4 separate regions of the Homo sapiens genome follow, and regions 1, 2 and 3 are each linked to region 4. Evidence: promoter capture Hi-C in human tissues and cell types (Jung and others, 2019). All regions are on one chromosome and are shown on one strand. The core of a region is centred on a gene start or on the middle of the fragment in contact, and the rest is flanking DNA. Distances in the headings are between cores, read along the strand shown. Region 1 has its middle 110 kb from the start of MIR4475. Region 2 overlaps RNF38 (ring finger protein 38). Region 3 overlaps RNF38 (ring finger protein 38). Region 4 holds the start of MELK (maternal embryonic leucine zipper kinase).

Region 1 (6,710 bases), core at 2,291-4,790, 140 kb after region 4:
GGAGGCTGGTGCTCTGGAAGGTGTGTGCTCTGGAAAAAGAGGAAATCGGTTAGTGAGTATCCTATTTCCAACAGACAGAGAAAGCTCTTGAATATTTGATGGCAAGGCTGACCCTCCAAATCCATCTACCCAGGAGTCTGCTGTACTTCTGACTTCCAGTTATGGGATCCAATCAATGTCCTCATTGCAGAGGCCAGCTTGGGCTGCTGTTCCCGTTCATTACAGCTGAACACATCTTAACTGATGCAGGTGCCAGCTTTCTCTTTCCTCCTCCTCCCCGCTGGCCAGAATTGCTTTCATGGCAACATTGCAGGACTAGGAGATGAGTTAGGGGCAGGGCTTTCGCTCGGAGTGAAAAGCAGACGTTGTCATTCTAGGTAAAGAGGATCTGGGCCCTTCTCTCCTGATGAAGTCGTGGGACAGAGAGTGGTGTCCTGTAAGATGATTCTTAAATCTGATATTATAAGGCCAAACACATAGAACTTAATTGACCAATTTAAAACCTTATCTTCTATACCTGTATATCTCTCTTCTACAAATCCCAATATCTGGCATGTCATAGTTAACAAATATTTGTAAAATGAATGAACAAATGAATAAATGAAGGCTTTCCTTGACTGCTTTCAACCCCATCTTCCACCTCATCTTTATTTTTTCATTTTTTATTTTATTATTTTATTTTTTGAGACAAGGTCTCGCTCTGCCGCCCCAGGCTGGAGTGCAATGGTGTGATCTCAGCTCACTGCAACCTCCACCTCCTGGATTCGAGCGATTCTCCTGCCTCAGCCACTGGAGTAGCTGGGATTACAGGCATGTGCCACCACCACGCCTAGCTAATTTTTTGTGTTTTTAGTAGAGATGGGGTTTCACCATGTTGGCCAGGCTGTCTTGAACTCCTGGCCTCAAGTGATCTGCCCGCCTCAGCCTCCCAAAGTGCTGGGATTACAGGCGTGAGGCACTGTACCCAGCCCACCTCCTCTTCTATTCCTCCCCTTCACATGTCCTCCACTCCTGCCAAATGGGTTATGTGTGTCCTGCTCACTAGGGTCTTTATCTTTGTCTACATTCTTTCCTCTGCTTGGAGAGCCTTTCCTCTGTCTCTTTCTGGCCCAATCTTGCCTGTTCTCACCCCAGCGAAGGGGCCTGCTTTTCATGAACAGTGCCAGAGCCTTCCTACCACGCTCCATCTCTCCTTCCCCATCTCTGCCTCTTCCCTCTCCTACGCCACTTGGGCAGTTCTGCAGGCTCTTGTGGTTCTTTGTGCTCTTTCTGCATGTGTCTGTTTCCTGTAGTAGAATGAAAACTCCTTGAGGGCAGGCATGGCCAGATTCCCCACACATCCTACAGCCTAGGACCTTGTTCTTTGCAGAGGAGGGCTCAGTGACTGCTTCTTGGAATTGAAAGAAGCAGGTGGACTGACATACCTCATCCTGTAGAAAATAACCAAATAGCCTGAGCTGCTGAATGCAATGTTTGCCATTTGAGCAGATGATTCCAAATGTCTTGCCTGCTCTCCTTTTCCTATTAATTTTTTTTTACTGTGGTAAAAAGTATATAACATAGAATTTGTGGTTTTAACCATTTTTAAATATACAATTTAATGGCATTAAGTACATTCACAAAGTTGTACAACCATTATCTTTGTCTGTTTCCAGAACTTTAAAATCTTTTCCTACAGAAACTCTATATTCATCAAATGATGACTTCCCATTCTCCCCTCCTCCCAGCTCCTGGTAACCACCACCCCACCTTCTGTCTCTATGACTTTGACAACTCTAGATGCCTCATGTAAGTGGAATCATGCAGTATTTGTTCTTTTGTGTCTGACTTATTTTACTTAGAATAATGTTTTCAAGGTTCACCCATGTGGTAGCATATATCAGAATTTCCTTCCTTTTTAAGGCTGTATAGTATTCCAGTGTACGTATATACTACATTTTGTTCATCCATTTGTCCATTTGTACACACTTGGGTTGTGTCCGCCTTTTGGATATTGTGAAGAATGCTGCTATAAACACTGGCATACAAGTATCTGTTTGAGTCCTGCTTTCAATTCTTTTGGGTAAACACCTAGGAGTGGAATTGCTGGATCATACGGTAAGTCTTCTGAACTTCTTAGGGAAGTGCCATACTGTTTTCCATAGCAGCGACACCATTTCACATTCCCACCATCCCTTTCCTATTTTTAGGCCAGAATTCATCCTCTGCCACAGCTCTCCAGAATCTCCCATTCATCTACACTCCCCAAACAGCCACCCTGTGTACAAAGCGGATGCGCCTGTCCCACTTATTAGAGAAAAGAAGTTGCATTAATAGTTTAAAGTGTGGTGTTATAGCTGGCTCTGGCAGCAGGTGATTGATGGCTTCCATTACACCCCATTAGATATTTTATTCTTGTTAAATGAAGAGCAGCCAACTTTGTCAAGTATTTTTAGTTCCCTCTGGTCTTATTGGTCCGATCTATTCTTCAGGATGGCCTGTAAATGGCCACATATGGCTGCGTGTCTGCAGGACGGATGGCCGTGCAGCTGGTGTTCATTGGCCACCAATTTACCCCGGCCCCCTTCATTGTGAGCCTGACAGCGCCGGGAAGCCTTGTAGATCTAACCAAATATATCTATTTTCTAATTGTCTATTTATCACCTTCTGGGGATTTGTGGGCCTCCCATCTGAAGGCAAAGGGGGGATGGCCTTGAACAATGATCCTTGTCAAGGCTCTCGCTCGCTCTAAATTAGGGCCTAGTTGCTAAATAACTAATTTAGTCCTGCTATCAAGCTGAAAAAGTGGGTATTCAGCGCAAAGTGCCAGCTGGGGAATTGATTATGTCTTCTCTCAGCGAGTGTGATAAACCTGCTGCCGAGCCACTGCGGAAGGCCGGAGACGGCTCCCCGGGGGCGGCGGCATTTCATAACGGAGAATTGGCAGAGGGGCCAGGTTCACTCCCTGCGTGGCAGCTGAAGTCTGGGGCACCAGGTCTGCCCGCCACGGCGCCCATGGGAGTCTTCCCTCACGGCACCCCCCTGGTTGGTGGCTTCTGCTTAGAGCTGTGGGGACGTGCGCATCTGTCAGAGAAGGGGACGAAGGTGAGAACCGGGGAGGGGAGAGGAAGGTCATCCTGACAGCCCCAATTTCCAATTAGAGTGAGATTATTGAAGGTGGCCCAGGCTCAGGGTGGGGGAAGTGGCAGGAAATAAATGGGAATAGGAGGTACTTAGGAAAATGTATTAGTAACAACTCCCAGATTCTGAGCAGAGAAGGAGGGGTAGCTGAAAATAGAGAGTTAAGGTTTACTGCTTGAGAAATCTAATCATGACAACAACAACCCTTATTTACTCAGCCCTCCCCTCCACCAGGCACCGGGCCAGCCACCTCCAGACCCGGGATCTCCTGGAATCCTCTCAATATCCAGGCAGATTGGGGTTTCCACCCCAATTTGTACTTGGAGAAAAGGAATTTCAGAAACTTCACCTAATCAACTCGTCTAAGGCTGAACTCTGCCTGGAAATATCTTCCTCACTCAAAATCTTTTAATGCCTCCATCATTCCTTTGTTCAACTGATTTTCATCACATGCTCTTCTGAATGCTAAGGGCTGGGGCAGTGAATTGGGCAGACAAGGCCCTGCCTTCATGGACCTGGTGTTCTAGTGGGGGAGGCAGACCAAGCCAGTGGTTCTCAACACAGTTGGACCCTGTGGAGAAATAAAAGGAAAGAAATTTTTAAAAATATGGATTTCAATATGCAAATGTTTGGTCGTAACTACATGAGAAAGCACGGTGAAGAACTCAGGCATTTACACTTATTTATATTGAGTGTTTGAATGTAAGAAGAAAGATAATATCCTACGGAATGTTGATGACATTTTCTCTTTATCTTTGACATTTTGAAATAAGGGCTAAAAAAAGTACATTGGTAAATATACTTAGAATTGCCTTCAATGTGACAGACACAGATGCAGACCGATAGAGGGAGAGAATCAGTGACTCAAATACCATGGTATTTCTTCATTTTCTGAAATGACAAAACTCTGAGTTGAAGGAAGTAAAATAATCTTAAAAAAAAAAAAAAAAGAAAAAGAAAAACTGAGCCAGGCAGGGTGGCATGCACCTGTAGATCCACTACTCAGGAGGTTGAAACAGGAGGATCACTAGAGGCTAGGAGTTTAAGATCAGCATGGACAGCATAGCAAGACCCGTCTCTAGAAAACAAAACAGAACGAAACTAAAAAACTAAATGTTGGTTACATTCCTGGAAAAGTCAGTGTAAATTGAACACAATCCATGCCTTGCAGGATGTCTAGTATCCCAGTCGCCCTCTCCCTCCCAATCACTGTAACAGCCAAAATACAACTGAACAAACAAGAAAATAATGACACAGTGACTACAATGATCAAAACAAAACTGGCTGACAGGATTGAGAGAAGACAAGGGGCTACAGTGCATTGAGAAGTCAAAGTTTCTGAATTGTGTTACGTGGTCCATTTAAACCCAGATGCTCCTGGGGAGGAAAAGACATAAGCATCCTTTGGAGTATTCATTTCTCCATGATAAAAAAAAGGAAAGTCAGGAATCTGGTTGGTTTGGAAGCCCAGAAGACTTGGATTGGATGCTGCTCTACCAGCTACCAGGTGACCTTGGGCAACCCACTTTTTCTTTGTGAGCCTCAGTTTTCTCATCTGTCAAATGAGGAGAGTGATTATTACATTGTTTTCCCTTTAAGTTAATAAGAAATCCAAAGCGATGGGAACAAGTGCTTTAATCACCATAAAATTCAAAGTGGACTTTGTATTTGTAATGGGAAAAATGAAAACTCAAAAGCCTCCAACAAAGGGAGTGGTTTTTAAAAAGCATGGCACAACCAATTCTACTGAACATTATGTAATCATTAAAATGATGTGAAATAATAGTTAATGCCATAGAAAGATGTTCATGGAGTGTTAGGTCAGAAAAGCAAGTTGCAAAATAATATGGAAAATATGAACGTATGATTGTAACCAAAAGAGTGAACAAATGAAACACCAGCCAACAACACAGAAAGAATTAGAAGAATTTATACCAAAAAAATAACTGAAGTCATCTCTGGGAATTAGAGTTGATTGTAGTGGTTTTTGCTCCTCTGTAAAATGAACTGTATCTTGTTTATAATAAGAGAAACAAGCCATGGACATAATTTTTAAGATGCTTGTCCCATGCTGACACCCTTGCTATAGTCACTGGCGCTGTGTCTCGGTGGGTGGCTAGTTTAGAACTAAAGCTTATCTTCTTTCTTGCAATTTTGCATGTGCAAAGATAAACAGTGTGGTCACTTGCTGTCCAGGGAAAGCTGTGTCCTCCCAAGGAGAGATTGGTTCTCTTTGTATATTACATTCTTGTATTAGTCTGTTTTCACACTGCTATAAAGAAATACCTGAGACTGGGTAATTTATAAACAAAAGAGGTTTAACTGACTCACAGTTCTGTATGGCTGGGGAGGCCTCAGGAAACTTGCAATCATGACGGAAGGGGAAGAAGGCATATCTTACATGGTGGCAGGTGAGAGAGAGAGAGAGAATGTGAAGGAAGAACTGTTAAACACTTATAAAACCATCAGATCGCATGAGAACTCACTCACTATTATGAGAACAGCGTGGGGGAAACTGCCCCCATGATCCCTTCACCTCCTCTCAGGTCCCTCCCTCAACTCCTCGGGATTACAATTCAGATTACAATTCAAGATGAGATTTGGGTGGGGACACAGAGCCAAACCATATCAGTTCTCTACCCTCAGCATATGGGTCACCTGGCTCCAGGTTCTTACTGGCAGTGTGTAAGATATACTGGTTTCTGGGCTAAGAACTATTATTTTAATCCACATGACACCCTATGAGGCAGGCATTATCATCCCAATTTTATAGGCACAAAAGTGAAGCCCAGAAGGATTAAATGACTTGCTACTGATCATGTGTCTTCTAAGTAGAAGAACAAAGATTTAAACTGGGATGTCTAACTCCAAAGCTAGCTCTGAGTCACTGGGCAAAAGTTTGTAACCACCAGGGAGACTAATTATTGGCTGGGTTTTCATGTCTCTATAAATGCTGTTGAAAAATATCTAGAGCTTTAATCTCCTCATGGCTAAATGCACATAAACACCCACCTCACGGCCTGGCTGGGAGACTTAGCAGGGTGGCAGCAGAGAAGCCTTGGTGCACTGTTTGTACAGACGTTGCACCAGGTCAACGTGGCTTCCTTTCCCTGGCTGGGGACTGGGTAGGGATTACAGCCCTTACCACTGGGCTCTCTCTCTGCCCAAACTGGAATCCAGTACATGGATAGGTCAGTCAGGAGAGATTCCAATGAAGGACACTGAGGACCCTCAAGGGCAGCCCTCCATAAACCTCAACCTGGGAGAGGGGCTCTTGAATTTAGCCAAAGACTTCAACTTTCAACTTCATCCACTCACCCATTATGTCCCAAAAAAGAGGGATTTACCTTCCATTCACGTCCTTACCAAATCCCTCCTGTTACAGACCTTACTCTCAATCACTTAATTTTGACCCACAAAGCACTATTTGGGAACAGTGTATTAGTCCAAAGTAACTTCAATCGATCCTATGTTTCAAATGCTTATAAAGGTCACTTACCGGAGCAAAAATGGAGATGAAAACACGAAGCATAGATTTAGTCATTTTTCCTTATGATTGCAAGTGTTGGATGTTGTAAACAAGCCTTTTA
Region 2 (6,034 bases), core at 2,853-5,352, 190 kb before region 4:
TATAAAATGGTGTCGTATTTGCATATAACGTACACACATCCTCCCATATACTTTAAATCTCTAGATTACTTAATAATATCAACACAATACAATATAAATGTTTTATAAATAGCTGTTATACTGTATTTTAAAATTTGTATTATTCTGTATTGTTGTATTGTTACTTTTATTTCATTTTTTCTGACTATTTCCCATCCGTGGTTGGTTCAATCTTTGGGTAAGGAACCACCAACTAATCTAGTAAAAGTACAGTTATTTTCATCCTTTAATTTTAGTGAGAAAGTTAGTTATGTTCTGATAATCCTAAAACTTAAAAAAAAAGGTAAATAACCACTGAAATTTAAATATTCTGATTTTTTTTAAAAGGTAGAACAATCAAGACCTGACAAACTTGCACATGAACTACATGAGCACCAGAAACAGGCTGGCTGCACAACTGGTGAAACAGATTTGATTAACACTGACTTTTTTTTTTTTTTTTTTTTTTTGTGAGACGGAGTCTTGCTCTGTTGCCCAGGCTGGAGTTCAGTGACGCCATCTTGGCTCACCGCAACCTCCGCCTCCTGGGTTCAAGTGGTTCTCCTCCCTCAGCCACCCGAGTAGGTGGGACCACAGGCATATGCCACCATGCCCAGCTAATTTTTTGTATTTTTAGTAGAGACGGGGTTTCACCTTGTTAGCTAGGATGGTCTTGATCTCCTGACCTCATGATCTGCCCATCTCGGCCTCCCAAACTGCTGGGTTTACAGGTGTGAGTTACCATGCCCAGCTTAACACTGACTTTTTAAAAACAAAATGCTAGTAACGAATCATGATCATTAGCTTTTCATACATACCCCACATTGTATATCCTACTCTGAATAAGCCTAATGTAAGCTAAGACACAGAACTTTGAATTCTAAAAATTCACTACCTAAAATGGAGGCGAATGCTACAGATACTCACGATAAAGGTCAAATGACCAGAGAAAGCCCTTAGTTTATAAACCTTTATATATTTTCAGTGATGTTCAAATTGTGGGCTAAAAATGTTCTTACTTTACAAGACATGCAAAGCTTTTAAAAGTAGAGGTAAGGAAAGTGGCTGCGAAAAGTAAAGTTACCATCACTTCTCTTTGTGCTATGATGGTGACAAAGAAGAGACAAAGAATGGGAAGTGAAGGGAGCTATTCATTAGAGTACTTACTACTTTTCTTTTTCCTTTTTTTTTTTTTGAGACGGAGTTTCACTCTTGTTGCCCAGGCTGGAGTGCAGTGGCCTCATCTCGGCTCACCGCAACCTCTGCCTCCTGGGTTCAAGTGATTCTCCTGCCTCAGTCTCCCGAGTAGCTGGGATTACAGGCATGCACCACCATGCCTGGCTAATTTCATATTTTTAGTAGAGATGGGGTTTCTCTGTGTTGGTCAGGATGGTCTCGAACTCTCGACCTCAGGTGATCCGACCGCCTTGGCCTCCCAAAGTGTTGGGATTACAGGCGTGAGCCACTGCGCTGGGCCAATAAGTTTACTTTCTAACTCAAAGTCACAGGAAACTACAATGACTAAATACAGGCAAACATTAAAAAGTAGTTTGCTACATGCAATATGATTTCATCACTTCCCTTATCAATTTTAGTACTCTAAGGAACTTCAAAGAAATTCTCACAGTTTCCAGAAAAGGGAAGGGGTAGTAACCTACAAAGAAATAAGAATTATATTAACATCAGACTTCCTATAGCAGAAACAGATGCTAAAAGTTCTCTGAGGGAAATGAATATTGAACCCAAATTTTGTACTCCAATCACACTATTAATCTAGTGTGGAAGCATAAAAAAAATGACCTTTGTCAGATATATCAAGACCCAAAGGTGCTCCTTACATAGCAGAAAATCACTTGATGTGTGCTCACAACCTTCCCTATCTCTCTGATTTGAAGCTATTACACAATATCCAATAAATGACAGAAGTAACCCAGAGAGTACAATGAAATGAAATTCCAGGAATGGTAGTATAGGAAGTGTGGAAATTCATCATTCCACATTAGAACAAGAAGTCAGAGGGCTCCGAGAAAAATGCCCTAAATAGAATCAAAATATATGACTGAGAACTTGGAAGTTATTAATAAAATTTAAGCAGACAGCTCTGTCATTATATAAAAGACAATCAGTCCAGGAAAGTCAATGAGGAATGCAAATTCATCTGACCTTGTCATCTAAAGCATTCTTTGAGTGGAATGGGTAGTCAGAAGATTACATTCACTTTTCCATGGGCCACACATGCTCTTGGTTCTGCAATGACTAAATATATGGATGTTCCTAACATGATGCAAAGTGTTTACTAGTTTCTGATAGTTAAAATCAACCTAGGACAAGGCATGAAAGATCACTACTGTAGTTACAGAACAGAATGGAAGTATAAACTCTATTAATGTAAACTCTAAATGTTTATGATAAAATCACGGACATTTAGTGAAAATCAAAATACAAAAATCTAAAAATAATGGCTTAAATATAACATACTTTTTTGCTTGTTTTTTGAGATGGAGCTTTGCTTTTGTTGCCCAGGTAGAGTGCAATGGCAGGATCTCGGCTCACTGCAACCTCCGCCTCCTGGGTTCAAGCGATTCTCCTGCTTCAGCCTCCCGAGTAGCTGGGATTACAGGCATGCGCCACCACACCCTGCTAATTTTGTATTTTTAAGTAGAGATGGGGTTTCTCCACGTTGGTCAGGCTGGTCTCGAACTCCTGACCTCAGGTGATCTGCCCGCCTTGGCCTCCCAAAGTGCTGGGATTACAGGCGTGAGCCACTGCGCCCGGCCTGTTTTTTTTTTAAAGACAGTCTCACTCTGTCATTGAGGCTGGAGTGCAGTGGCACGATCTCAGCTCACTGCAACCTCCACATCCCGGGCTAAAGAGATGCTCTCACCTAAGTCTCCCAAGTAGCTGGGACTACAGGTGCACACCACCATGACCAGCTAATTAAAAAAAAATTTTGGAGATACAAGGTCTCACTATATTGCCCAGTTTGGTCTCAAACTCCTGGGCTCAAGCAATCCTTCCACCTCGGCCTCCCACAGTGCTGGGATTACAGGTGTTGAGTCATTACGCCTGGCTAACAAACATGCTTTTAAAATGCAGTGCTAAATGCAGGGGAAAAAAGGGAAATCATCAAGGACTCAGAAACTGAGGAAAACTGAAGACCAAATTTGTATTTTTGATGCTCTCAAGAGGAATAGAAGATAAGGCCTTATGACTGAGACCCCTACATGAAGTAGTCAAAATTTCCAAAGTAGTACACTTAAAAAGGAAGACAAGAAAAAGTCATTCCAGTGGAAAAGAGAAGGAAACGTCAATAAGGAAATGTCTGCTCTGTGTTGACTTCGAGTGGAAGTGGGTTTCTCCCGTGAGAATTCAAACTTAGGTTCACTCCTCACACCCTATTTGGGGTTCAGATTTTCACGATCCATGCTGTCTGTGAACCTCTAAACATAAAAACATAAAAACTCATCCAGAACTACGCTACTACAAGGTCTCTTTACATGAGTAAATACAAAACTGAATCTGGAAGGATATTCCCACTGCTTTTGTAAACTAAAAATAAAATCCCCCCCAAATGACTGAACTGACTCTCTCTTGACTACAGAGACCCCAGAGAAACTAGAAAAATTGAGTTCTTGGCCTGGACAGGAAGGAAGACTAGATACACCTCATTTTATCTCTCCATCCCCTGCTTCTGGAGTTTAGGCAAAACTGACCAGCATTAATGTTAAAATAGAAATTATAGGACCTAACAGAATGGACTTTTTGTGACAATAAGATACCAAATTATAAACAGGACCTAAGGCCAAGCCAGACAAGGGTTAACTCACACACCCCTACAGGTCACTCTAACCCAGTGTATTGGTTAACAGACTTTCTTATAAGATTCCCTTCTGCTGAATCCAAATTTTTAGACAAAGCTTTACTCTATAAACCAACTGCAAATTACAGAATCTCATCTCTGAATCCACCTAAAATCTTTAAGTCCTCACTTCAAGATATTCTGTGTCTTTTCGGTTTGAAACAATGTATACTTTCCATGTATTGATTTATGACTTTGTAACTCCTGCCTCCCTAAAACTGTAATTCGACTGTAGTGGGTACATTTCCTTGGGACCTCCTGAGACTGTTTCCCAGACCATGGTCACTCATATTGTCTCAGAATAAACCTCTTTAAAATGTTTTCACAGAGTTGGGTCTTTCCATTAATACCTATGCCAGTAGTTCTCAAACCTTCATGCTTCAGAAACACCAGATTGCTTGCTGGCCTCACTCCCCCGTCTCTAATTCAGAAAGTCTGGACCAGAGGTCCATGAACTGTCATCTCTACTATTATCCCAGGTGATGATGCTTGGATAATTTAGATTTTGAATTATCAGGCAGAGAAGTTCTTTCCCTCCTCTCCTTGTTGATTCTAGGCCAGTGGACCAACTTTTCAAAGTACCAAGTGTTGACAATTTAAAATTCATAAGATGTTGATTCAAATCTGGTACAAGTACTGTCTCTATTATTTAATAATATAGAACGTTGTACAGACATTACAGTATAGAACACTGCTACAGATTTAGGGATCAAGGGAGGTCAAAGAGGTCATAATGGGAGGAAGGAAGGAAAGGCAGGTTTTATGCTTAGCATTAAATCTGATAAAAATGAGTCTAGGAGTACACCTCTATTAACACCAAACCATTTTTATTACCAAAACATCAACAGAAGTGAAATGAACCTGAGGCAGGCATAAGAATGCATTCCATAATTCCAGATGAACAAGTCAGAAGTCATTAAAGGCTAAAGAAAAACAATTTTATATGTAATATATATCTTGGGTTTATATATATATCAGCAAGTCTTAGAGATAATAGGAGATGCTGAGCCAGACAAACTTTTCCCAAAACAGAAACAGGTTTCAAGTTCTACTCAGTGACTACAACATGCCTCTAATGGCAACCACTAGTGAGCCCTAAGGACTTCCTTCCCAAAGCAGCAAAGAGGCAACTTGTGTGGGGAAATGGAATTTCTCAAGAACCTGGTCCTCTTTCTAATCAGTCAGGACTACTCTTCACCTTAGATTTACAAATAAGCACAGCATGAGTTAAGAATCTTCAATTCTCCTTTAAACTCCCAGACTTTCTCTACTTGCCTTAATTACCTTTAACAAAAATGAAGTTTCTTATTCCACAATTAAGGAAAAACAGTTAAATGCAAAGGGCCCAGGAAGAGCAAACTCTCACTAAATTTTATTCATTTTAAATAAATGTGAAAACACTTAGAAATCAACACTCTATATAAGCAACTTGTTACTAAAAAATAAGACAAGATCCTTTTTTGTTTTGCAGAAGATGGATATAAGCTGGGGAAAGCAGAAAATTAAGAATTTTATATTTGGATCACACAATAGTTTACAAAATGACTTCTAACATTACCTCATTTTATTCTCCACAAGCTGAGGTTTTCATTTTTAAACTATGTCCAGATAATACGTAAAATGTGGTTTTTTGGTTGCTGAGACAGAGTCTCGCTCTGCTGCCAGGCTGGAGTGCAGTGGCGCGATCTCAGCTCACTGCAACCTCCGCCTCCTGGGTTTAGGCGATTCTCCTGCCTCAGTCTACCAAGTAGCTGGGACTACAGGCGCGCACCAGCCAATTTTTGTATTTTTAGTAGAGATGTATTTCACCATGTTGGCCAAGACAGTCTTTATTTCTTGACCTCATGATCCGCCCACTTCAGCCTCCCAAAGTGCTGGGATTATAAGCATGAGCCACCACGGCCGGCCTAAATGTGTTTCTATTAGTGAAACTGAAACTTTTTAAGGCAGTTCAGTGAACATGCTGCCCTTGAACTACATAATGTACACAGTCTCATTTCACATAGGACTTTCATTTGATGTATAATTCTTATACTCCTCAGATCACAATTTTGCAATGAAATTCTGTCTCTCAACCAGACAACTAATATATTCTCCTGAAATGTTATTTTACTTGCAGATATAGAAGAGGCTCTGAATGTTGTTTTCAAAAGTTAC
Region 3 (5,967 bases), core at 146-2,645, 210 kb before region 4:
GCGCCCTCATTTCTGAAAGGAGGCTGAACTGAGATTAAAGATTAAAGGACAAAGCATAAGCTTCAGAGGCAAGAAAAAAAAAGTTAGTGTGAATCTCTACTCTCCTATACTAGCTGTCTCTACGGCACTGAGCAAGTCATATTTAACTTTTCAGATTCAGACACTAGAAAATGGGGGATGATGCTACTTTCATCATAGGTTTCCTATAGTAAGGAATAAGACAAAGCACTCAAAGTGCCCATTAAAACTCAGTAAGTGCTGAGACTCTTAAGTGTTGAACAATAAGGTCTCTGAGACTTAGGCTGACCTTCATTGGCTTTAATTATAAACGGTGTTGACATATGAGAAAACATGGTTTGACCCTCAGGATATCCAAATATATGTATAAGTTAATTAATGTAAAAATATATCCGGTTATAAAGCTAATTTTCTTAAATGGTTACTATAAGGATATTATTGAGATTTTTATTGCAATAAAATTGGCCTTTTTACTTGAAAGTGAAACTACAAAGACAGTCTCTTAAATTTTGTTTGCTTATATAATGCAGTTAGCCCCTCTAAAGAGGGTAAGAGTCGGGAAGTTACAAAACCAAATTCAGGCTGGTGTGCTTAATAGTAATATCTAATGAGAACAAAGATAGAGACTTACTGGAGGAGGCACACTACAGACAGGGAGGTGCTGTCCACTGAAAACCACAGAGCATCCTGGGACCTGCTGTGTACTACAAGCAGGGATGTGCTGGCCTGTGCAGAGTGGAATCCCATGTGGTGCCACTGTTGTTACTGTGTAAGAAACAGGGACTGTTCCTTGATGGAGCTTTAAAGGAAAAAACAAATGAACAAACTTTAGCTGTTTAGATAAAATGTTAACTATTCAAAATCAACATTTGGTCATTTATTGGCTCCTCTCTCAGCTACACGGATTTTCACAATGTACTCTCCAATAGTTTCGACCAGAATATTCATTGTCTTTGTAGGGGAGAGTTGACTATTTCAAGAGTATATACTATTTCCACAAAATTGGGGCTAAACTCCTCCCTCAAATGACTTGAAAAGCCCAGGGAAATAATGGATTACTATATTAACTCTTCTAGCCTGTCCTATAAAGGCAGAATAAAAAGAACTGGAATCATTAAAGCTTGTATCTTCCATTATTTGGTCACATTCAAAACAAATTTTAATTACAACTAGTGAAACAATGTAAAGTATATTTTTAAAAAAATGAAATCTCATTTCCCGCCTAGCCAATCTTATTCCCATCCTACCTGCCACCCAGAGGCAAACGATGCTGATAACATATCCTTCTTCTCTTTCTCCATGAACATATGAAAGCACAATTACATATAAAATGTCACATTTATTTTTGTTTTCTTAACAGAAATGAGATCATACTACCCTGCAACTTTGTTTTTCCATTTAATACTACATTGCAGGTATGTATGCAAGGGAGTTAAAAGTAACTTGTTCTCTTTGGTACTAGCCAGATATTTTAAGAAACACTTGCTTAACACAGTCCTATCATATGGTGTATCAACACATGTTCAAATTGTTTTCAACTCTTTTGCCAATATAAACACAACTGAAAAAATATGATATTAGTTTGGCCAGGCACGGTGGCTCATGCCTGTAATTCCAACACTTTGGGAGGCCGAGGTGGGCAGATCGCTGGAGGTCAGGAGGATGAGGCCAGCCTGGCCAACATGGTGAAAACCCGTCTCTACTAAAAATACAAAAAATTAGCTGGGAGTGGTGGCGGGTGCCTGTAATCCCAGCTACTTGGGAGGCTGAGGCAGGAGAATCACTTGAACCTGGGAGGTGGAAGTTGCAGTGAGCTGAGATCGCGCCATTGCACTCCAGCCTGGGCGACAAGAAAACTAATTTTTTTTTCAATCCTGTCTTATGGGGCTGAAGGAAGACTTAATTTCATCTGAGGCCAAGGCGGAAGCTTTGGCCTCCCAAAGTGCTGGGATTACAGGTGTGAGCCGCTGCACCTGGCCCCATCGATCCTCTAGGTTGTCATAATCATTTGTAATTTTTTTATTTAAGAGGTATATGAATCTATTGCTTGTTGTGTGTAATGAAAATATTTTCCTAGTCTATGTTTTATCTTTTGATGAGATCCTTTATTTAATGGCATATTTTTGTCTTTTGTGATTTTTTTTTTTAAATGTAGCCAGAGTGTAGCTTTGGGGTTTCCTTTACTGATGAGGTTATAAACATATATTCCTGTATTTCCTAATTCTTTAGTTTTTCGTATTCCAAAAGACTTATTTTTGTTTATAAAGTAGGGCTCTAATTTTGCTTGCACATGGACAATTATACTTGCTCCATTTATTAAACCATCTTCTTGCCTCTACAGTGAAATACCATCTTTTTAAAAATTCATTAAGTACGCACACATTCCTGGATTTCATGCTGCTTTAACTACAGTATCTTACTGGAAGAGTTAGCATCTGGTAAGAAATTCTTCTCACCATACATCTTTTCATTTTTTGGCATTGTCACACAGTTATTCTTACGTATAAAATCAATTTTATTCACTTCCAAAACCCATTAGTATTAAGATTGTACTAAATATGTTATTTTACAAAGGACTGAATTTTATATTAAGATTTTTTTTTTTTTTGAGATGGAGTTTCGCCCAGGCTCCAGCCTTGTCGCCCAGGCTGGAGTGCAATGGCACAATCTTGGCTCACTGCAACCACCACCTCCTGGTTTCAAGCAATTCTCCTACCTTAGCCCCGCCCCGAGTAGCTGGGACTACAGGCGTGTGCCACTACACCTGGCTTTTTTTTTTAAATTAGAGACAGGGTTTCACCATTTTGGCCAGTCTGGTCTTGAACTCCTGAACTCAGATGATCTGCCTGCCTCAGCCTCCCAAAGTGTTAGGATTATAGGCGTGAGCCACCGTGCCTGACCTATATTAAGACTTTTTATACCCAGAAACATTATGCCATTACGTTGAATATCACGGTTCTGTCTTTCAAGAAGAAATTAAGTCTTCCTTCAACCCCATAAGACAGGATTGAAAAAAAAAATTAGTTTTCTTCAAAAAGATTATTAAATTTATTTCTCAAAGTTTATTATTAAATTTGTTCCTCAAACTGTGGTTCTGTTATAATGACAAGAGGTTATTTTACTCTATTTGCATGTCAAAGCGGTTAGTGTTAGTACGAAGATAATTTTTATCTATATTATCTTGAATATATCAACCTTACCAACTTTTAAATTCTGGTATTTTTAAAAAACTTAGAATCTCCTTTCCTAGGTATACAACTACAGGATGAGCATCCCTTATCTGAAATGCATGGGACCAGAAGCATTTTGGATTTTTTGGAATTTTAGAAAATCTGCATTATACTTACCAATTTGGCATCTCTAATCCCAAAATCTGAAATCCAAAATGCTTAAAATAAACATTTCCTTTGAGTGTTGAGTCGGTGCTCAAAAAGTTAGATTTTAGAGCATTTCAGATACTCAAATTAGGGGTGTCCAACCTGAATAAGGTTCAACCCAACTATCATCTTTTTGTGTTAGCAAACTAGAACCTTCAAAAATAATGTGTATAAGTACCTATATCCTATATCTGATTTTAATGGAAAAGTATGATGAATTTTACCAATAAAACTATTGATTTCTAATAAACAGCCTTTGTCACAAATACCACCCCCCTACCCCGACCAACTGCACACACATTTTTTTTGAGACAGAGTCTTGATATATTGCCAACAATGGAGTGCAGTGGTGCCATCACGGCTCACCATAGCCTCAATCTCCTGGGGCTCAGGTGATCCTCCCACCACAGCCTCCCAAGTAGCTGGGACTACAAGTGCATGCGACCACACCCAGTTAATTTTTGTATTATTATTTTTGTAGAGACAGGGTTTCACTGTGTTGTCCAGGCTGTTCTCCAACTTTTGAGCTCATGTGATCTGCCCACTTCAGCCTCCCAAAGTGCAGGGATTACAGGCATGAACCACCGCGCTTGGCCAAGTACCATATTTTGCTGAATCCAAGACATCAGATTGTATAGTCATTTTTTCCCCATACTAAGAAAAATACTTCTGTTTTACTGGAGTGCAGTGGCGTGATCTCGGCTCACTGCAACCTCTGCCTCCTGGGATCACACCACTCTCCTACCTCAGCCTCCCGAGTACCTGGGACTACAGGTGCCTGCCACCATGCCCAGCTAATTTTTTCTGTATTTTTTGTATTTTTTAGTAGAGACAGGGTTTCACCGTGTTAGCCAGGATGGTCTCGATCTCCTGACCTCGTGATCCGCCCGCCTCGGCCTCCCAAAGTGCTGGGATTATAGACGTGAGCCACCACGTCTGGCCAGATTGTATAGCCATTTTTTCCCCATACTAAGAAAAATACTTCTGTTTAACTAACATAACGCTTGGTCACTTATAAATTTTATATATTTATTAGAAGCACTTTAAATGAGATCATACAACACTTGAGCATTCAAAAAAGGAAAATATAAGTGAAATAAAGTAGTTAGTTCTGATAGTTCTTCACTTTCAGAGTCTGACTCTGGTGAATCACTTTTAATTTCAGTGTCATTGTCTGGTTTTCCCACAAAAGGTTCAGTGCCATCAAGGGAGTTGGTGATGCAGCGTTTCTTAAAACTATCCATAAAAGAAACAAAAGCTACTTGATGCTAGATTCTTAAGTCAGGGGTGTAATTATATAGAGCTTGTCTACTTTTGACTCCTGCTTGGAGGTTTATGTTAAACTCACCTCCTGCCACACCCCCTAAACACTACCACTTAATCCCTATGGGTTAACTGCAAGACATATGATGCACAGCACAAGCAATGAAGACTGTGTTACAACTACTGCTTGGCTGACACCAAGATTAAGATGCCATCAATTGCGAGAAGCATCCATCCCAAATTCAGAGATGTTAAAATATGGAAATAGTACATTTTAAAATCAATGAATAGGGCCGGGCACAGTGGCTCACGCTTGTAATCCCATCACTTTGGGAGGCTGAGGTGGGTGGATCGCCTGAGGTCAGGAGTTTGAGACCAGCCTGGTCAACACAGTGAAACCCCGTCTCTACTAAAAATACAAACAATTAGCTGGGCGTGGTGGTGGGCACCTATAATCCCAGCTACTCGGGAGGCTGAGGCAGGAGAATGGCTTGAATCCAGGAGGCGGAGGTTGCAGTGAGCCAAGATCGAGCCATTGCACTCCAGCCTAGGCAACAAGAGCAAAACTCCGTCTCGGGGGAGGGGGGAGAAGGAGTTTCATATTTCTTTTCAGAAACTTCATTGTAAAATACTTTGTAAAATACAATCAAAGTACCAAAGTACATAAAGCACGAACATCAAGACTACAAAAAAAAAAAAAAAATCATCAGATGAACACTCATGTAACCATCACGTAGGTCAATAAACAGAACATGGCCAAAATCCCCCAACGACCCCCTCCAAGGACCCTTTCCTGGTCAAAATGATCTCACAGCCACTCTTTGATCCCAGTTATCAAAGGAATCACTATCCTGATTTTTCTGGTAACCATTTTTTTTTTCTTTTGAGACAGAGTCTTGCTCTGTCACCAGGCAATCTTGGCTCACTGCAACCTCCACATCCTGGGTTCAAGCCATTCTCCGGCCTCAGCCTTCCGAGTAGCTGGGACTATAGGCGTGCATCACCACACCCAGCTAATTTTTGTATTTTTAGTACAGATGGGGTTTCACCATGTTGGCCAGGATGGTCTCGATCTCCTGACCTCGTGATCTGTCCGCCTCGGCCTCCCAAAGTGCTGGGATTACAAGCGTGAGGCACCACACCCGGCCCTAATCTGTTTTTCTTTATGGTTGAACCACTGAAGCTTGAACCCCAACCTAGTCTTTTGTTGGTTAAATACCTTTTCGCTGTCTTCACGGTGATTAATTGTTTCAGTCTATGAGACAGGGGTCTTGCTCTATCATCCATCCATCCATCCATCCATCCTTAT
Region 4 (6,620 bases), core at 472-2,971:
CAGAGAACTAACTTTGAAGGAAGTCCTGCTGTGGATGAAATGGTATCACACAGCATCACATGCTACAGAGAAATCTTTCATGAAAGGAAGTGTCCATCGATGCAGCATTGTTGTTTTATTTTAGGAAATTGCCACAGCCATCCCAACGTTTAGCAACCACCACCCTGATCAATCAGCAGCATGGAGGCAAGACCCTCCACCAGCAAAAAGATTATGATTTGCTGAAGATTCAGATGACCATGTTAAATTAAGTTTAGCATAAAGCTGCCTCCTTATGCATTTTAAGTTCAGACTAACAATTTATTTCTTTCTCTCTCTCCCTTTCTCTCCCTTCCTTTCCTTTCCCTTCCCTTCCCTTCCCCTCCCTTCCCCTCCCTTCCCCTTCCCTTCCCCTTCTCTTCCTTTCTTTCTTTTCTCTCTCTCTTTCTCTCTTTCTCTTTTTTTGAGACGGAGTCTTGCTCTGTTGCCCAGCCTGGAGTGCAGTGGCACGATCTCTACTCACTGCAACCTCTGCCTCCCAGCAGAGAGAATCAAGAGATTCTCCTGCCTCTACCTCCTGAGTAGCTGGGATTATAGGCTCGCGCCACCAAGCCCGGCTAATTTTTTGTATTTTTAGTAGAGACAGGGTTTCATCATGTTGGTCAGGCTGGTCTCGAACTCCTGACCCCAAATGATCTGCCCCCGCCCCCCCACCAAAGTGCTGGGATTATAGATGTGAGCCTTTGCACCTGGCCTAACAGTTTCTCCATACATAGTGAATTGTAGACAACTACAATTGTAAATGTGTAAAGAGACTGTAACCTTGTAACAAGTAGCGAGTCTCAGTCAATCACAGCAGCGGAGTTTTGGCCAATCACAGGTGGCCAACTGTTTAAACAGTGCTCAAAATAGTCAGAGGTTGAGTTGCAACCAATCCAGCTGTTTCCATACTTGACTGCAATTTCTGTAAGTCATTTTCCTTTTTCTGTCCATAAATGTTATTTGAACATATGGCAGCCCGAATCACTCTGAACCTATTTTGGTTCCAGGGATTACTGGATTTTGGACTCATTCTTTGGTCAATTCAACTCTGTAAAGTTTAATTTGTCTAAAGATTTTCTGGGCCGGATACAGTGGCTCACGCCTGTAATCCCAGCACTTTGGGAGGCTGAGGCGGGAGGATCGCTTGAGCCCAGGAGTTCGAGACCAGCCTGGCCAACATAGCGAGATCCCGTCTCTACCCACAAATAATTTAGCCAGGCGTGGTGGCGCGTGCCTGTAGTCTCAGCTACTGGGGTTCTTATTCCTCGTGGCAACACATTTTGGAGAGGGGGAGGTATTCCTGTCTTTGCTGGGTGGGAGAACGGCCAGTGGGCAAGGGAGGACGAAAATGAGAACTGTGACTGCCAGAGGGCACGTCAATTTTAGGAAGAGAACGTAAGAAAGTTGGGTTCTGTGGAGACTTGGCATATCCACGCCACCTGGAAAATCATCACGTGCCCTCCGGGGCAAGACCAAGGCCTCAAGTCACCCCTCGCAGCCCAGTGGACCTCCCGGCCATCCCTTTCACGGCTCCACAGCGACCGCGAGCCGTTGCCCCGGTGAGAACCCCCCGGCACTGTGCGCGCCCCCGCCTGCCGTGCGCGTCCGCTTCCCTGGGATCCGGCGCCGCGCGCGCCCCCGCCGCGTCCCCGCCCCTTCCGGCCCGGGAGATTTGATTCCCTTGGCGGGCGGAAGCGGCCACAACCCGGCGATCGAAAAGATTCTTAGGAACGCCGTACCAGCCGCGTCTCTCAGGACAGCAGGCCCCTGTCCTTCTGTCGGGCGCCGCTCAGCCGTGCCCTCCGCCCCTCAGGTCAGTTCTCCCGCCTGCCCGCCGCAGTCGCAGTTGATGGCTGGGGTCTGGGCTGTGCGGGGCGCAGCGGCCCAAACCCAGTTTGCTCCTGGCTCTCGGGAGACTGGAGGATTTCATCGGAGCCCCGCGCTTTACCAGCCCTGTTCCCTGGATAAGATATTTGACCTTTCCGACCCGCGGTTTTCTTCTCCGTAAGTGGGGATAATGACCGTGTCTACTTAACAGGGTTATTGAAGAGGTGTTCAGGCTAAGCGTTTGCCACCTAGGAGGCTGCGATAGACGTGAATTCCCATTTCCCGTTTCCAGTTTCCGTGACTCTTCCCCGCGAAAAAAGTTGACAGAAGGGTTTCGAGTTTTTTCTGTTTGTACAACTCAGTTTACTGGGGCAGTGCAATAAAAAAGGAGATGTGTTATCACTACCTTTTCAGAGTCCAAATCCATCCTCTCCTATCATCTCCCCAGAGTAGTGGCTTCAGAGGCTCACACTAAAAGGGGAATTTTTTTTCTTTTTCTTCAAGACGGAGTTTCGCTCTTGTTGCCCAGGCTGGAGTGCAATGGCGCGATCTCGGCTCACCGCAACCTCCGCCTCCCAAGTTCAAGCGATTCTTCTGCCTCAGCCTCCCGAGTAGCTGAGCTTACAGACATCCGCCACCACGCCCGGCTCATTTTTTGTATTTTTAGTAGAGACGGGGTTTCACCACGTTGGCCAGGCTGGTCTCCAGCTCGTGTCCTCAGGTGATCCGCCCGCCTTGGCCTCCCAGAGTGCTGGGATTACAGGCGTGAGCCACCACGCCCGGCCTAAAAGGGGAATTTTCACCGAATGCTGTATCAGTAATAGGAGCAGCAGGATTGCTCCCACCAAGAAACCTGGTGTAGGGTTGTGGGAGCTGGAAAGGGTAGACTCAGGGAAGGCTGCCCAAGAGAGGAATCAGGTCCCTAGCACTTAGGACGGGTAATTACCTTTGGTATTTCTCCTTTGTTAGTGGAATGAGGTGAGTATCAGGAGCCTGGATTGTTGTTTAGAGGCCAGTGTTCCTAACTTTGGTTTAAATTTTGGTTTCTGTTTCCCATGGAGTCTGGCTAGAAAATCAGAAAAATCAGAAAAGCCCTTACTGGGCCTTCGTGGGCTTGTTTCTCCCAAGGGTCTGTCCTTTCTGTGTAACTACTGTGGACCAACTAGATGGGCAGATCAATCCCAATGAGTGCCTCATTGTTGGTGCTCCCAGAAGCCTTTGCAAGGGAGCAGGGCAGGATGCTAATTAAATGTGTTACAGGCCACATTATAAACCATTCTGAGCCCGGCGTGGTGGCTCACGCTTGTAATCCCAGCACTTGGGGAGGCCGAGGTGGGCGGATCACTTGAGGCCAGGAGTTCTAGACCAGCCTGGCCAACATGGCGAAACCCCGTCTCTACTAAAAATACAAAAAAAAAAAAAAAAAAAAAAATTAACCGGGCATGGTGGCGCATGCCTGTAATCCCAGCAACTGGGGAGGCTGAGGCACGAGCATCTCTGGAACCCAGGAGGCGGAGGTTGCGGTGAGCCGAGATCTAGCTACTGCACTCCAGCCTAGGTGACAGAACGAGACCCTGTCTCAAGCAAATAAACAGACAAAACCCAAAAAACCATTCTGTATTCTACTTCCTGTTTGAAATTATCCTCAGCATCAGTGTCTTTCCAAGCTCTGTAGATAAGGTAAATGTATTTATGCGGCAAGTAATAGAATAGCCCAAATAATATTGTTAAAAAATGCCCCCAATTTGTTGCTATCCTTTAAAATTTAACCATAAACGTCTTCTCATTATCCCAATTCCTTGCTCTTCTGAGAAGTTAAAGACCCCAATTATAGGCCGGGCGCGGTGGCTCACGCCTGTAATCCCAGCACTTTGGGAGGCCGAGGCAGATGGATTGTGAGGTCAGGAGTTCAAGACCAGCCTGGCCAAGATGGTGAAACCCCATCTTTACTAAAAATACAAAAAATTAGCCGGGCGTGGTGGCGCACACCTGTAATCCCAGCTACTTGGGAGGCTGAGGCAGAATTGCTTGAACTCAGAGGGCGGAGGTTGCAGTGAGCCGAGATTACGCCACTGCACTCCAGCCTGGGCAAGAGAGCAAGACTCCGTCTCAAAAACAAAAACAAAAACAAAACCCAATTATATATACCCCCAATTCTTCTATTTATTTAGTCAAGCCCAGAAGGGCACTCAGGTGTCTGATTGGGGTCTAATTTCCTTCTTCATTATTCACAGTTGAGAGGCTGTCTTCCGCGTTGACTGATAATATACCTCCTTCAGCAGCTACAAAGTTGGGTTACTCTGTTCTCAAGGCTTTTCTGTATTCTATATTAACAAACTCTAGAGGATAAACAGGGCACATGAGAATATTTAGAACCAGCTCCACATTCACAAAGATTTACAAATCAAGTATAATCTGCTATTAGTGTAGGAGTTTGTAATGTAAGCACCAGTTTTCTCACATTGCAGCAACAACGATATTCCCTTGATTCAGTAGCTATAATCTAGGCCCACATTGGTATTACTCATCCAAAGACATGATGTAATTTGAGAGAAGCGGGTAGATAGAGAAAATGGAAGAAAGAAAGAAAAAAAAAAGTGCATGGCTTCAGTCTTACCTTAGTTGTTAAATAAACAACTTGCCCATCTCTGCTAGTTTTCCAGAGGCCATGACTGGGATGTTTATAACTCTTTTGGGAGAAGTCTATTAAGTTAATTATGACACTCTTAAATCCCTAATCTGGGAAGTGAATTCCAGCATCTTACAAATTGCTTTCTCTTTCTGAGTGACAATTTGAAATAGCCCAGTCCTTTGCATGGAATGTAAACATGTGCATTCAGATTTATAGTCCAGTGTTCCTCCATTTCCATTCTCCTGCTCTCTTTTTTCTTCTGTATCAGGATTCCAAAGATTTCTGAGCCTTAGGTTGACCTCTATACTTTTACTGTTTTTATTGCCTTTTGGAATTTCTTAGTCCTATGGTTCCTGTTTGTTTTTAGGATGAGGTTCCAGTTTATCCCCACATTTGCCCCACTGACAAATGCCCTTTAAAATATTTCTGAATTAGTGTTGCTGTTTAAAGTATTTAATCCTGTGCCTTCAGGTGCCCAGTGAGAATAAATTTGTCCTCTGTGATATCTCCTTGCCTTGAGTAACTTTTTCTACTCCAGTGGAAGCAGAATGTTTCATTTTCTATCAACAGTTTTCCCTCAGTACTGGGACCTGACCTTGCTTCTTCTAATGTTTGCCTACTGTGTTCATGCAGATTTCGTTAGGTTAAATGTTCAACCTACTTATTAAGTTGGGTCCAGTGTGATCTCTTCCTAGGAAATGGCTTAATATTGTTTATTTTATCAGAATGTCGTTTTGCATGTTATCTTTTTGTGTGCTATTTCTGCTTTGATGTTGAAGACTGAACCTTGTTTTTTAAAGCTGATTTAATTTTTTTCTTGAGTGTCGATATTTTTCCTTCTAAAGCTTCTGCTCTAGTTTTCTATTCATTGACCAAATTTTTTTTGTTTGTTTTTGAGCTGGAGTCTCACTCCTGTCGTGCAGGCCAGAGTGCAGTGGCGTGATCGCGGGTCACTGCAACCTCCACCTCCTGGGTTCAAGCGATTCTCCTTCCTCAGCCTCCCTAGCAGCTGGGATTACAGGTGTGCATCACCACGCCCGGCTAATTTTTGTATTTTTAGTAGAGACGGGGTTTCTGCATGTTGGTCAGGCTGGTCTCGAACTCCTGACCTCAGGTGATCCACCTGCCTTGGCCTACCAAAGTGCTAGGATTACAGGCGGGAGCCATTGTGCCCAGCCGTTTTTTACTTGCTGATAATAATTTTCTTTTTCTCTCCAAGTAAAATGATTCATGGAATCAGTGTTTCAGGCATAGAAAAATGATATTTTTAAAATGTCCTTTGTGGCTTTTGGGGTTTTGATAAGTTCATTCAGAATTTTTTCCACCTCAATTTTAAGAAGACTACTCATCATTGTATGAAGGGCCTTCTCTTATTAAGCTCTGTCTTCCTTTATAAGCTCACCACACTTCTGAGGTTGAACTCACACTCTAGGTCTTCCAAATTCATGGCCATTATTAAGGCTTAGTAACATGCTAGTCACTCAGTTCTGGATAAGGGCAGGGTGAAGAACAGAGAATTTGAAGGTAGTTTACGTGGCACCTGCCACTCATCAGTTTGAGGCTTAAACAGGCTTGCTTGGCCAGGGCGATGGCTCACGCCTGTAATCCCAGCACTTTGGGAGGCCAAGGAGGGTGGATCACCTGAGGTCAGGAGTCTGAGACCAGCCTGGCCAACATGGCGAAACCCCATCCCTACTAAAAATACAAAAATTAGCCGGGTATGGTGTTGTTGTTCGCCTGTAGTCCCAGCTACTTGGGAGGCTGAGGCAGGAAAATAGCTTGAACCTGGGAGGCGCAGGTTGCAGTGAGCTGAGATCGCACTACTGCACTGCAGCCTGGGCACCAGAGCAAGACTCCATCTCAAACAAACAAACAAACTAGCCAGGAGTGGTGGCATGTGACTCCTGGCCTCAAGTGATCCACCCACCTCAGCCTGCCAAAGTGCTGGGATTACAGGCGTGAGCCACTGCACCTGGCCTCGACTAGATTTTAATTTTTAATTTTTATTTATTTTTTTGAGACACAGCTTCGCTTGTTACCCAGGCTGGAGTGCAGTGGCATGATCTCGGCTCACCGCAACCTCTGCTTCCCGGGTTCAAGTGATTCTCCTGCCTCAGCCTCCCTAGTAGCTGGGATTACA

The links. The method cuts DNA at HindIII sites, captures the fragments that hold promoters and counts their contacts. A contact is called where the count stands out against the background at its distance.
Region 1: a fragment that was not itself captured here is called in contact with the fragment with the promoter of MELK in region 4 in 1 of the 25 tissues and cell types used here (H1 embryonic stem cells).
Region 2: a fragment that was not itself captured here is called in contact with the fragment with the promoter of MELK in region 4 in 1 of the 25 tissues and cell types used here (spleen).
Region 3: a fragment that was not itself captured here is called in contact with the fragment with the promoter of MELK in region 4 in 1 of the 25 tissues and cell types used here (mesendoderm cells).

The regions. Positions count from the first base shown.
Region 1 is chr9:36,711,417-36,718,126 of GRCh38, forward strand. No RefSeq gene overlaps it. Among named protein-coding and RNA genes, the nearest start is that of MIR4475, 110 kb to the right of the region's middle. The HindIII fragment of the contact is 5,393 bases long and covers 845-6,237 here.
Region 2 is chr9:36,377,705-36,383,738 of GRCh38, forward strand. The region is part of intron 2 of RNF38 (ring finger protein 38); the gene reads right to left. Among named protein-coding and RNA genes, the nearest start is that of RNF38, 20 kb to the right of the region's middle. The HindIII fragment of the contact is 8,504 bases long and covers 1-6,034 here.
Region 3 is chr9:36,357,126-36,363,092 of GRCh38, forward strand. RNF38 (ring finger protein 38) reads right to left here. Exons shown (of 12, transcript NM_022781.5): 5 at 650-817. Among named protein-coding and RNA genes, the nearest start is that of RNF38, 40 kb to the right of the region's middle. The HindIII fragment of the contact is 4,996 bases long and covers 1-3,893 here.
Region 4 is chr9:36,571,174-36,577,793 of GRCh38, forward strand. It overlaps MELK (maternal embryonic leucine zipper kinase), which reads left to right and starts at 1,722. Exons shown (of 18, transcript NM_014791.4): 1 at 1,722-1,834. RefSeq lists an enhancer at 441-940 and a silencer at 1,524-1,803. The HindIII fragment of the contact is 26,418 bases long and covers 1-6,620 here.